Linked DNA regions of Homo sapiens: region 1 is linked to region 2. The links are contacts of gene promoters, found by promoter capture Hi-C in blood cells and fetal thymus (Javierre and others, 2016). All regions are on one chromosome and are shown on one strand. Each heading gives the region's core, a stretch centred on a gene start or on the middle of the fragment in contact. The rest is flanking DNA. Distances are from core to core; before and after follow the strand shown. Region 1 overlaps UMODL1 (uromodulin like 1). Region 2 holds the start of RIPK4 (receptor interacting serine/threonine kinase 4).

Region 1 (7,143 bases), core at 478-2,977, 360 kb before region 2:
GGTGATGGGGTCCCGGGCGTTGCTAGACGGGGTTGCCCAGCACTCCGTCAGGACCACCTTGAGGTTGCTTTTCTGCCTGTAGAGCCCCACTTCGATCCTGACATCGTCACTGGCAGACACGCTATAATTCTGAGGTATGGGAGAGTCTCCGATAAACAACTGCATTTCGGTAACAAAATTCCCAGCGCCGTGGAGGTCCTCGATGATGGTGTAAACCCTGCAAGAGGAAGCAGCTTGCAGGAGGCATGTTTCAGGAGGCGCATTATCGTGGCCCCTCCCATTCCCACTTCTCCCCTAAAACACAGCTCCAGAGGAACGTGCAAATGAACGAGAAGACCCCCTCAACCCCAAACGAGAGCACTTGGAGGCCATTTATTCAGGGCTGGCTGGTCCAGGGGTTGCCTCCCTCAGTTGTATAGGTGGAGACTCAGTGGAAGGTGGGGGGTCCATTATAGAAAAAGTGGTGCCTGATGGAGGCTTGGGTGGCGGCCTGCCAGTGGCTCACTGGAAGTGGGGCCATCCCATGGGATTGGCCACGGGACATATTTGGCCTTCTCTGGCTAGCCCTGAGTGGGAAGAGGGAACAAAATTTGGGGAGCAGCCAGGCCACACCCATTTGTATATTCCATCTCAAGGAAGGGTCCTTAAGTGGTTGACACCCTAAAGAACTCTCAAAGCGCAGGTGGTCTGGAGGCACGTGGCTGTGGGGCAGCCGGGGCATTTCTCCCTTACCCCCACTCCAGGGTGAAGCCGGAGGATGTCAGCAGGTCATTCTGGAAGGCGCAGTAGATGGGGCTCAGGATCTTCAGGTGGTGGATGATGCCCTCCTGGGACAGGTCGTTCCTCAGCGTGGTCCTCACCACGGTGTTCGTCATGTTCTGAGCACAAAGCGGAGCATGAGGAGCTCCCAGGCCCCAGCCGGCCCCCCACGCCCTGCTGTGGGCCACGGCTCTAGGTGCTGGGGGGATGGGGGTTCTTCTCTAAAGCCTCTCCCCAGCAGCATCGAGATCCTGGCGATTCTCCCAACCATAAACTGCCTAAGAGCCTAAGGGCTCGGCCTCTGCTCATTCCCTATTGACCAGAGGAGGCAGCACCTGAACCTGTGGGGATTCCGTGGCAGCTGCACAAATAAGTCTTTCTGGGAAACTTAGTTTTTGACAAGTGTCAAAAACCGTCAAGAGCTCTTGTGGATTTCAGGGACTGGGTGAGTCATCAGAGACAAATTCCCTTTTCTTTCAACATGCCCCAAACCCTGCTGCATTTAATAATCAAGCCAAGCATTGGTCTGGTTCAGAAAAACACAGAGGGAGCTGCCGGCTGCAGGCTCTGCCCAGGGCCCCAGTCCTGGGAGGCGCTGTCTCTCCACTGGAGCTGCCGCTGTGTGGGTGGCGATCTGAGCACCAGGCAGGCTGTCCTGCACCCTCAGCCCCTCCACTTGGCCCCGCAGCCCTGCAAGAGCCCTGCATAGGCTTGAGGATGCCGCTGTGGCCCGGCCCACATGCACCTCTCACCCCAGACCTCCCTCACCAGGGAAACTGCCGAGAAGCCACAGGAGCCACTGATCACCGCCCATCCCCCTTGCAGACACCCCCCTGCTGCCAACGCTCGGCCTCCAGGTGGCCGTCTAAGAAGCTTTGAGGGAGAAAACTAATTCTGGGCAGTTCTGCTTAAGTTGTGCCATTTGAGGGGCTGAAGGGTGAGGAAGGTTTTGTAGCTGTTGAAACAGTGCAGGTTACTCCTTCAGCCCAGGGAGGATCTGAAGAGCCCCCGAGGGGGCGGAATGAGCTCGGCAGAGTGAGCTGTGCCTCCCAGGCAAGCTTGTGCTCTGCAATGGCCTCCGACGCGTCCACGTGAATCCCTCAGCTTCCTGGCCACCCTCAGTCCCAGCTCCAGGCTCCAAGCAGGCTCCACACCATGGAATCACCTTATGCCCCACCTCCCCACCTCATCCCTCAGCCCCTGGGGCTTTCTGGCCTCTGCTCCCCAGGGCTAGCTCCTTACTCAGCCCCAAGGTCCATGTCCCAGCCTCCTGCTCAGGACGTCCACCCGGTTCCCACTTTGTCGGCTCCCAGACATTGACACCCCATGCCAGGACTCTGGGTTTCATCTGACAGCTTTGACCCATCCAGTGCCAGAGGCCGCCCTGTCCCCACTAAGGAGTGTGTCCAGACCCCCAACCAGAAGCAGCACCCCCTCAAGGCTCCTCAAGAGGCAGAGCCACAGGGACGGGGCTGCTTCTCGGTGTCAGGTTGACTTTGACCCTGAACTCCCATGGACCCTGCCGAGCACCCAGGGCTCAGCCGCAGAGCGTGGATGATGATGCCTGACCCATGCGGTCGCTAAGGGACTAAACATCATCATGCATGTAGAACTCTCAGCCAAGCAGGTCCACGGTGGTTTCAGGGCACCACCCCAACCAATCCCTTTTTTTAGAATGCAATGCCTTGGACTGCTCAAAGGTCCTGAGGGACAGAAGCCCAGGGCCCAGAGTTCCCGCCAACGACCAGGAACCACCATTCCTGCCTAGCTCCCGATGAGGACAATGTCCCCATTAGGAGAGCCTTCTGGCCCTGGCTCCTAGGCCAGGCACTGCTCCCTGCTCAGCCCCATCCACAGCCCCACTTTCCCACCAGGCCTCATACCCCACCCTGCCCATGAGTGTCCACCCTTCCATCCCTGCCCACCTGACCAGAACCACTCGGACAGACTCTTAACTCCGCCATGGTTTCCAGCCTCCCTCATCTAGCCACCCCCGGCATGGCCCTTGGATACATTCACAGCTCTCTCACTCACCCTTGGAACGACGCTGGCCTCCTTTCTAGGTCGAGCCCCTTCCCAGAAGGCCACTTCCCCAACCCAGAGCCGGCACGGGCTCCCTCTGAAGCCGCCGGCCCCTCCAGGCAGCTTCCCTGATCCACCCTGCACTCCCAGGCCCATGCGGCCCAGGCCCCTGTGTCCAGTACCAGGCTGAGCTGGTGGAAGGTGCTGGCTCTCCCCTCCTCTTGTCCCCCAAGCAGGGCCCTGAACACGAAGCCTTTGTGCTCCATGTGGCCAAGTGGGGTTGGAGACGAACAAGGGCCTGCATGGGAGCGTTCGCTGTGACACAGAGGCACCCTGGGAAGAAGCAGGACCTGGAGCCAGGTCAGCTACCTCATGGGTGCCACACACTAGAGGCTCAGAGTAGACCCAGGACGCACTGGCCCAGAGTCACCTGCAAGGGGAGGTGCCAGAGCCCATCTGTGCACACAGAGGTGCGAAGGCCTCAGGCCAGGAAAACCCACTTTCCCCACCTGGGCTCCCTCTGTCCCGGGAGCCCCACAGCCCATCCAGGACCCTGAAATAGAGAATGTTCGCTAGGAACACAGTCCCTCCGACAGAGCAGTTCTGACTAATGCCATCCAATGCCCCCCAAACACACACCCATACATACACACTCACACATGGACAAACGCATCCACACATGCTCAACTCACGCACACATGCACACATGCACATAGACACATTCTCACATTCACACACTCACACATTCATACATGCATGCACACCCACACGCACACAAGCACGCGATACACATGCACACACACACGCACGTACATATAAGCACAGCCATGCATATACACATACACATTCGCACACACAGATTCACACATTTACACACATTCACACACATGCACACCCCCACATACACAGACATATTCAGACACATGCACACATGCACACACGTACACTCACACACACACACTCTCATATCACACAGGACTCCTTGGCTTTCCTGCCTCTTCCTGTCCCACTGCCTCTCATCCTGTCTGTGCAGGGAGGAGTTTTAAGCCGTGACTCTGAAGCCTGCCCCAGCACTCTGCACCAGAGTCCCTCCTGGGTGGACTCACAGCTCCCTTCCGATTCTGGGGTGCAGGCTGGTCCCTGGTTGAGAACTCAACCCTGTCCTGAACCCCCCTTGCTGGGTTCCCCTCGGGGTGCAGAGTCTTGCCTGGCCCTCCCACATCGAGGCCCATGTAACCTAGAGCCCCTTGCGCCCTAGTGTACATCCTGAGCCTGGCTCTCCTGGTCTTACGCTCTGCATGAGGGTCCCACACTCGCTCCAGCCGGCCTCCAGGAGCACGTGTGTGCCATTGCTGTGGCTCACGTTGCAGGAGGGGTGGCTGAGGTACAACGAGGACTCGGGGATGGATTCCTGCTGCAGGAAGCGCTTCTGGATGGCGACAACCACCTTCTCGATCTCACAGAGCACCCTGACTGCTCCGGTCAGGTTCAGCCGCTGGGGCAGGCCTTGGGGGGTGGGGCTGGTGCCTTGCACAAAGGCAGCCTTGGTCCCTGCTGTGGTGAGAGGCCTCTCTGGGCTGGTGGCCCAGGTTTCATTGCCAGGAGAGTCACCTGCAAGGCACAAGGAGGAAAAGGCAAAGAGTGGCTCTGTGTTTGGGGTTGGCATGGAGGGGCAGGGGTAAGGAGCAGACTGGAGCTGCCCTGCACTCTGCAGCAGCCACACCTGGGAACCGCATGTTCCAGCCACAACTACACACGTGCACACACACACACACACACGCACACATATGCACACACACGTACACACACGTGCATGCACACACATGCACGCAGAGATGCACACACATGCACACACATGCACACACGCACGCACACACGTGCAGACACACACACACGCACACATGCACATGTTGCACATTTCCACCAGCTCAGGGATCCAGGCTCACCATGGGCCCCCGAGGGCCAAGGACCGAGGGACCTGATGCCGGGGATGTGCCAAGCCAGTGGATACAGGGTGAGTCTTCTGCCCTGAGAGCCCTGAGTCTATTCTCTAAGATGGGGTAATGATGCCTCCTCTTGAGGTCCTTGTGCCCAAACTTCCCACTCCAGCTCCCTTCTTGCCCCCAGAGCAGGTTCAGTTTCAATGCCTAGGAGAACAAGGGGCCCGGAAAGCTTTCCAATCCACCCACCTGTTCTCGGGGTGGTCTATATGGAAGCAGACCCCAGACACAGCTCCGCACGTGCCCTCCACCCTCCTTCAGCAGTGGCTCCATCATCTGTGGGCCTGGTTTGTGCCTTCTTTTATCTCAGAGTGGGGCTTGCCCAGCCCCAGCACCCTGCAGCTCCACCCAGCTCACTCCTGTCTCTGGGCCATAGTCCAAACCATTGCTGAGGACTTCACAGTTGGCTGCTGCCTCACCCGCCTCCCTGGGCAGCCTGCTTCTCGCTCTCTGCCACCCATCTCCTGCAGGTCCCTGCATGTGAGATCACGCCCATCACCAGCTCTGTTCTCACCACGGCACCCACCCACCATGCCCTGCCCTCCCTGCTGGGTGCCATCTTAGCTATCCATTAAGACCAGCTTCAAGACACCACTTCCAGGAAGCCCTCCCTGGCCACACTCACTGGACTGAAGCAACTTAGCCTCCTCTGTGCTTCCTGATTCTACCTCAAGCAGGACACGTTCTATAGCCCCCCGGATACCACACTCACTGGTATAAATGCCCACCTCCCTTCACTTGACGCAGATTCCTGGATAGCAGTGGCCAACGTGGGGTCAGTGTTAAATCCACTAAGACCCCGTTTAGCAGGAAAAGAGCTGGGTGGAAAGAGTGGCCAAGAGGAAACATTCCCCTGTGTCGCGTGTCCCACGGCTGCGTGTTTCACAAGACGGTCGCTCAGCATCTGCACGTTCACACCTCATGTATGTGTATATTTTCTCTCCATGGATATCAGAGCTAGCACTTGGAGAGATAAGGCACTGCCCAGAAGCCTGGACACATATGAAAGAATGGGAAGGAACATGCACACACGTACACACATGTACACATACATCACACACACACACACACACGTGCACCCACATCACACACAGGAAACTTCCCCAGGACATAAAAATATGACCTCAGAGGGACAAGAAGCCCTTTGCACGTGAATGTCCTTAAAAAAAACCGATTATGATACAGTATTCCAGAAGAAGAAACTCTGACGACATTACCTTCACAGGGTCTCTCAGAATATTCCACAGGGAAGTCGGGGGCTCCTCCCTCGCAGCTACAAGTGAAAGACCCGAGGGTGTTTCGACAGGATGTCCCCGGCACACAGTCGTCCTCCTTCCTTTCACACTCATCGTAATCTGCACAACATTTAGAAGACAAAACAGAAGAACATCCCTGGGGGCTTGTGGTCTCACAGCAGCCTGGTTGGGGGAGAGTGCATCTCACAGACAAAGCTGGAAACTCCAGCCACAGCAGACTGCAGTCAAGCTCACCAGTTCTGGAAAGTACAGGAGGCTTCCTGAAGCTGGGGCTGGGAATGGCTAAGTATGTCTGCAGGGGCTGTTCTGGAAGGAGGATTCTGGCCCAGGGCTGGGAGGGGGATCTGGGCAGAGCAGGGCCATCCCTTCAGTTCCCGGGAGTAACCAGGAGATGCACAGGCCCCCAGATCCACCTCGGTCCAGCCCAAGGGACCCAGGCTGCAAGCCCAACCCTGGGCAGAAGGCCCTCAGGCCATTTGCCTTTCGCCATGATGCTGGGTTGATTGTTGACAGCAAAACAGGTTTACTGCAGAACATGGATAAGAACCAGAAAAGCGTGGCCAGGGGCAAGTTAGCATGTGGACGTATTTCCTTCCAGCCTTTTAAAATGCAGGCATGCTCTGAGAGCATAGCTTGCCTCTGCCACCAACTAGCTCCATGCAAATCCACAAACCGCTATTCTCATCATTGCATAACAGCCCGGGGCGGGGACACCTGGTAACTTAGCACCTTCTTTGTTACTGGATGATTGGTGATTTCCAACTCTTTGGCTTTTAAAGTAACACTGAAGATGAACATCTTTGTATTTAAACTACGGTCCAAACAGATCAAATTCCTTAGGACAAAGTCGTAGAGCTGATATTTCAGAATCCAAGTGGATGGCCACTTTGAAAGCGTTTGATTTATGTCACCAAACTGGTTTCCAGGAAGCATGAGCAAATCCTTCTGCCACCAGCAATCTGTGCAAACACCTGCCTCACTACACTTTCACCAGTATTCATGTCAGCAGTAAAGAGACCTTTTGTTTGCAATTTGATGGGCAAACAGTGCAATGCATTCTAATGGGGATGTCTTGGGTTACCACATCTTTGTTAGTCATTCATATT
Region 2 (6,598 bases), core at 294-2,793:
CTTTGCTAGAGCTGAGCCCCGGGAACAGGACAGGTGACTCACTTTCAAGTCCATTCATTTTTTTCCCACCAAAATAATAACTATGTTTACTTCCAAGGTATCTTCGTAGATTCAAAACTCCAATTATTTTTTAAAACATTAGTCCAAATGTAAGTTACATTTGTGACAAGCTTAAAACAACTATTTGCCACTCCAGCCTTAAGGAGACCAACTTTAATTTCCGGAGTATGTGGGAAAGGAAGTGGCTCCCTGGTCCCCCCAGGAGGCCCCCCGAGCAAGCATCGTCATGTTGGGATGTGTGAGTTCCCTCCAAAGAGCGGCCGGATGGGAGTGGGGAGGCAGTGGGGAGACGCGGCTCCCCGCTACAGGCTATGAAAGAAGGTCCGCGCCCGTTTGGAAGGGGGAGCCTGGAGACACTAGGTCTGCGGCTTTCAATGCGCTGACTTGGGGCAGCCTCTCTCTTTCCGAGTTACTAACACAAAAACACAGTTAATGTCGTTAAAATACCCTCTCCTTTAGCTCCGCCCTCCTGTCTTCATTATTAATCTCCTGTGGCCAAAAATAAGCCTTCACTCACCGTTGCGTCTCAGGAATGAGTGAGTGTTTTCTGAGGTGTGGACGCGTGCGTGATCTGTGATGCACTTCGGCCTCTAACCCAAATATCCTTCCAAGGCTGGGAATTTTTTTTCCCCATATGTGAAAAAAAAATCTTTCCTTTTCAAACCATCTGTTCTACCTGTAAAAAGAGGCTGTTATTTAGGAAAGGATGAGGGAACTCTTGCATTTGAAATGGACTTTAGATTTGCTGTTGGGTAATTTTTTAAAAAAAGTTACTTTCTGAGAGGAAACTCGTGTAAAAAAGCAAGACGTGAACCTGCAGGGAATTAGACTAACGAGTGAAGAAAGCCAATTTCAAAAAATTAGGCGCTGTATGATTCCTGTATCTAAACATAACATTTCTGAAATAAAACAATTTTAGAAATAGAGGAAAGATTAGTGATGCCAGGGCTCCGGGGTGCGGCTGTAAAATCGCCACAGGAGTGGCCAGGTGGGGGTGGATACGGGAAGGTACACAGATGATTACATTGTGTAAAACTAATACATGCAAAGGAAGACGAGTAAAACGGCAAAACTGAATAAGATCGGTGACTGTATCAAAGTCAATATCCTGGTTGTGAGATTGGACTTTTTTTTTTGGCAAAGTTTTGCAAAGTGGTAACACTGGGGGAAACTAGGCAAAGTGAATGATTTCTTACAACTGCATGTGACTCCGCAATTAAGGAAAAAAAAAAAGCAAAGAAAAGCAGGGCAGCTGATGCGCACGTCGAGACCCGTGAGAAGCGTGAGAAGCTCTGCTCACCCAGGGGAGAGCGCAGTGACCCGCAGCGTCTATTCATCCGTCCGCAGTCACCGGGCGCTGGCAGAGAGGGCGCCCGGGGGGCGGGTAAGTGGGCGGGGCCTGGGGGCGGGACGACCTACGGAAGTGACGTAACAGGGCGGAGCGCGCACCTGGGCACCTGGGCAGCCGCCGCGGCGCTGGCTAGACGTGCGCGATGGAGGGCGACGGCGGGACCCCATGGGCCCTGGCGCTGCTGCGCACCTTCGACGCGGGCGAGTTCACGGGCTGGGAGAAGGTGGGCTCGGGCGGCTTCGGGCAGGTGTACAAGGTGCGCCATGTCCACTGGAAGACCTGGCTGGCCATCAAGTGCTCGCCCAGCCTGCACGTCGACGACAGGTGAGCGGCCCGGGCGGGGCGCTGGGGCGGCTGGGGCCCGGGCTGGGGTCGGGGTCGGGGTGCTCTGGTCCCGGGGTCCTGCCTCTCTCTCCCGAACTCACCCCCGGAGCAGCTTCGGGGGGGAAACCAATTGCCGGCGAGGCCGCGGGGCTCCGACAATGTCCACTCGGCCTGTCCGGGCCGGAGGGGCGCGGGGGCTTTGGCGAGCCCGGGCTCGATCGCGCACGTCGGGGCCGGGTCAGGCGGCTCCTCTGGGGCTCCTCTGGGGCTCCTCGGGGGCCGCGTCTGCCCGGACGTCCTAAGGCGCCCAGTCGTGCTTCCTGACACTCCCCGAGTGGCCCTGGTTTTCGGGGTCTCCAGCTCGCCTTGCGCCTCGGACCCGCGCCCTTGGGAGGCGCGTCCGGCCCGCCCGGGACCCACCGGGGCGCTGCGGTCTGCGCAGGGCTTAGAAAAATTGCCATGTGGGCCTCTGGGCTTTGTGAGTGGAGTTAGCCTCCGTTCGACTTACTTAGTAATTTACGTTGGAACACAAATTGGTGTAAGACTGTAATTATTTCGGTCGGAAGCTTCGGCTTGGCTCGGGCGAGGCTTCCCGGGCGCCCGGCGCTTGCGCGGTGGAGCTCCGGGGCTCGGGCCTGGCAGTGGGGTCCGGCACGGGGCCCGGGGTGTTGATCCGTCCGCCCAGCGCTTCCTCGCCGCACACTCTCGTTTTAGCTGACTTAATTTCGAGACCGACCCGCTAGGGAAGGGCCTTGCATTCAAGTTCTGTGGCCGTGCCATGGGGCCCTCCTGCACCCCAGTTTCCCAGTCCAAAAGTCAGAATGGAACCTGCCTGTACCTACCTAGCAGGAGTGTTCAAGGTAACAAAGACGAATGGGAAGGACGCAGAGCCGCCCGTGTTAAATTCGGTGGGTCGGTTGTCGTCTGTGCATAATTTGAGAGGTAGGGAGAATGTTCTTGAACAGTACCTCTTTGTTGTTGTAGATTTCACTGTTTACAGTTGATTTTGATGGTTCATATGTAAGGCTCAATTTAGCACGTTTTAATTATTTATCCTTTAATGAAGCTTACCTTCTACATGGAAGCTATGCTTGTATTTTACCTAGAGATTCCTTGAACACATACACTCAGAAGCGACACCTTTTTAAAATACCATTTAGCCTTTGCTGCCTGGCAGACCTGGTTTCGAATGCTCGGCTGATTGAGTGATGGGGCCGCTAAGCCCCAGCTTTTCTGCAGAATCGTTGTGATGCCTGTGTCTGGGGTGGCAGTGCGTGCTGCAGCCCCATACCGTGACTGTGACGCCTCTGTGGATGAGAGGCCTGTCCTCTCCCTTTGCATTTTCGTCCTTGGCTAGGAGACTACACAGCAGAGATAGTGGTGGCTTTTTGCCGTAACCCTCAAATCCAGTGTTTCTTGGAAACACCAGTAGAGTGGTGACGAGTGTCATCAAATCACCACTAGTTCAAAGGTGAGATGCTGGCCCAGGCTGTGCACTTTTTCTCCCCTGCCTCAGATTCTGGGAACTTCTCAGGCCAGGAGGGGTGCTGTGGTTATTTTGATGAAATCCAAACCACTTTGAATACCAGCCAGTGGTTAGGTTCTGAAAGGGAACCCTCTCCATAGGGGCATTCGTTTTATCTCTTGGGGATGTGTGTGAGCTTTAATCATCAGTGAAAATTTTCACACCACTTTCTTATATTGGAAGAGCAAAGTAAACAAGCACCTACCTGGACTGACTCACCAGCTCACATCCTTAGGATCTTCTGTTATTTCTAGCGACCAGTCCCTTATTTCTTGGGTGGCCTGGTTGGAGGGAGGCTTTCTCCACTTAAGGTGGATCACTTAGGATATTGCATAGCTTGGTTGAAAAGTGTTTTGTACTTTAACTGGAAGCCTTTCCTACCCTGCCCAAAGCAGACAGGTGGTGGCATGTCAGGTGGCTAGGTCGAGGTCAGCATCGCCTAGCAGGAAGCATTTCACCTCCTGTGCTCTGCTGGGCCTGGTAGAGTAGGTTGGGGCTTTGCCATGTGCAGCAGTGGCTGATCTTTCTGAGAAGTTGGTCAAACCCTGGCTCTTTGTGAAGCTGATTCCTTTAGGTTAATTATTGACTGTATTGAGCCTGAGGTTCTTGTTAGGAATGTACATCAGTCCCACTGTGCTCCAGGAGCTGGTTGCATTGCAGTCTCACAAGGTTGTACCTAGGCCTTGAAGTAGTCGCTGTGCCACTTGCCCTGCCACATTTCTCAGTGCTTTTCTGACGAGCTGCCTCCCACCCCAGCCCCTCATATTTGCAAGATGTTCCCTGAATTGGGGCATAGGATTCTCCTAGGGTCTTTGTGTGCAGCCCCCGGCCCTGTACCCCTTCTGCCTAAGTCTTGCTTCTCTTCTCGGAGGGACAGCCCCTCTCACCCCTGACACACGGGTCTGGGCCTCTTCCAGGCTGCTGGGGGTCAGTGATGGTCTAGTCCACTTGTTACATAGGAGCCACCACAGGTACAGGTGCAGGTGAGGCTGATTTTCACTGGCCAACGCTGCTTGCCTCTCAAGGTGGTCTGGGGTCTCCTGGCTCCCTGCAGCTCCCCTGGGCCAGGCCTTCAGCCGGCCCTTGGCCACAGCACCTGCTCGGGGCTTGTTTGATGAGCAGGCTGCGCCAGGCCATGTGAGCTTGCTTTTCTGTGCAGGAAAGGTTGGGGGGCCGCCCAGCCCCCAGACACTTAGCGAGGCTCCCAGGGACAGGAAGTGCCTGCCAGGGGGCCCTCCTGGGAGTTCACAGGTGACACCCCATTGATCTGAGATTACCTTCATCATGGGGCTCGGTGCCTCGGAGGGTCCTGTGGGGTGGCTTTGGAGAGGCAGCTGGCCTCCCTGGCTGACCCTCATTGTGGGGGTCACAGGGCCTAGGGTGGGGTGTAGGGATGGGTGCTGTGACCAGTTTGGAGAGAATAAAGTGATCCCAAAGGCCCCGTTCCTCCCCTACCAGCCCCCAGCTAAGGGGATGCTCAGAAGAAGCCAGTGCCTGCGGGGCGCCGGCTGGGAGACGCTCCTGCCACATTCAGCCCTGGCTGGTCGGGGCGAGCCTGAGCAAACCCCAGGTTTGTAACAACAGAGCTGACGATTGGACAAGCCCGTTTCTTGTCAGTTTTAAAAATAGCCGTGTGGGAACCCCTCCGAGGCTCCCTGGGAACATAATTGGATTGGTGTGCAGAAGGCCTCGCTGAGAGGCATCAGCTAACAGATGATGAAACACATTTTCCGGCTGCATTTTCCTGAAGGTAGTTGCTAGGTTTCTCCTTCGGAGCTCTTTGTTACCTGAGCGGTCTCACCGTCTCCCCCACCTCCCTGCTTCTCACTTTTCCCTTCGTTTATTGCTTCTCCGCTTGCACAAGACCATGTCCCGGGGCAGTTCTTTCCCCCTTTCCAGGATGCGTGCTTGCAGGGGAAACCGCAGCTGGCCTGGTCCACAGGTCTTTGGAATTTCTGAGCCTGGAGAAGAACCTTGGGACTTCTTTAGAAGTTCCTTTTAGAGATGATTGGTGTGATGATATTTCTCGTATTTCTCGCTACTCCATTGGCCTCCCTGGGAGGGCGAAATACACTTTGGCTAGCCCTAAATGAGGAGAAAACCGAATTCATCTAAGTGCTACTCACCGTATCTTTAAAAAGTTGAACCCCAAGTTAATCCTAATTAATGCCCAGAGATTTTTCATGTGGAACCCAAAACAGGACCCAGGACACTTTTGCGGGGGAGGGGGGGCTTTTCCCGTTCCTGCGTGGAAGCAGAATTAGCAACGCTTTCACCAGCAGCGAAGGAGAGGGGAATAGGATGCCACCCCCTCTGAACTGTGCCTAAGCGTAGCTGCGCTTGGAGCAAGGCACAGTTTTTAGGTTGTGTTTTAATTAACACCGACGAGAGGGGCTTCTGGTCAACCCAGAAACGTTGACTTCACTGTCAACAGTAAGAAATGCGATTTGGAGACGGTGCGAATGTGACTGTGTGATGTTCTGTGCTCCCTGGCCGCCACCCCAGCACCTAGGCTGGATTCGGCATCTCTCCACGTGTTAAAATGATAATAGTAATAAATCTACAGTTCCTTTTGTGTGGTCATCAGAATAAGCCAGAATCATTAAAATAAGCCAGAAACACTGCTTAGGAGAAAAAAATGTATTAAAAAAAATAGTGCCATTGCTCAAAAGCAATTGGTGGGTTCTTTCTGTGCTTCGAGTACCTGAGCACTTCTTAACCTCCCTGATCAGAAAAGCCTCTTCTTGCAGCTTGTTGCAAAGAGGCCCTTTCAGGCTTATTGAATTGCAAATGCCGCCGGGCGACACCCGACCCCAGAAGGGCTGGAGCTTCCTAAAGCCGCTGGAGTTTCCCAGATGTGCGCCTAGGGAGCACCTGGAGAGGGGCTGGAAGGCGGGGTCGTGTGGGTTTTGGCCCAGTGGTTACTGGATGGTAAACAGTGTGGAAAGTTTCTGAGGACATGCTGGTGCTTCTGAGCGAAATCCAGGCTGGTAGGCAAGGGAGCCGCCCCACCCCCACTCCTGGGCCTCAGATCTCCCACAGGGCGGTCCCGGGACCCCCTTCCTCAGCTGGAATCCTGTCTACCCCAAGCCAGTTTGGATCATGCTGTCACAACACTTTTGTCCACGGAAACAATGACTTTTTTTTTCCAGGACAGCTGATTTTCCTCGAGAAAGTGCCCTCAAATGTGTGGCCCATGGAAGGGGGAAGTCGTGCCGGGCTCCCTTCAGGCAGTTGCGCAAAGCTGGGGTGGACTCCGTTAGGAGATTCTAGCCGGGATCCGCTTTCAGGAGCCAACTAGCAGCAGTGGCCCTTTTTTGTTTGTTTGTTGTTTCTTT

Evidence for each region. The method cuts DNA at HindIII sites, captures the fragments that hold promoters and counts their contacts. A CHiCAGO score of 5 or more calls a contact.
Region 1: a fragment that was not itself captured here is called in contact with the fragment with the promoter of RIPK4 in region 2 in 4 of 17 cell types (M0 macrophages, fetal thymus, non-activated CD4 T cells and 1 more); the score reaches 9.2 in M0 macrophages.

Annotation. Positions count from the first base shown.
Region 1 is chr21:42,120,080-42,127,222 of GRCh38, reverse strand. UMODL1 (uromodulin like 1) reads right to left here. Exons shown (of 23, transcript NM_001004416.3): 16 at 5,999-6,136; 17 at 4,073-4,392; 18 at 733-878; 19 at 1-217. Among named protein-coding and RNA genes, the nearest start is that of UMODL1-AS1, 15 kb to the right of the region's middle. RefSeq lists enhancers at 925-1,696, 1,697-2,470, 3,798-4,734, 4,735-5,672, 6,392-6,521 and 1 more. The HindIII fragment of the contact is 185 bases long and covers 1,635-1,819 here.
Region 2 is chr21:41,761,997-41,768,594 of GRCh38, reverse strand. It overlaps RIPK4 (receptor interacting serine/threonine kinase 4), which reads left to right and starts at 1,543. Exons shown (of 8, transcript NM_020639.3): 1 at 1,543-1,735. The coding sequence starts at 1,554. It overlaps LOC102724800 (a long non-coding RNA gene), which reads right to left and starts at 1,428. Exons shown (of 5, transcript XR_937745.3): 1 at 1,361-1,428; 2 at 578-736. RefSeq lists enhancers at 3,831-4,429, 4,692-4,986, 4,430-5,029, 5,731-6,364, 6,365-6,598. The HindIII fragment of the contact is 2,131 bases long and covers 173-2,303 here.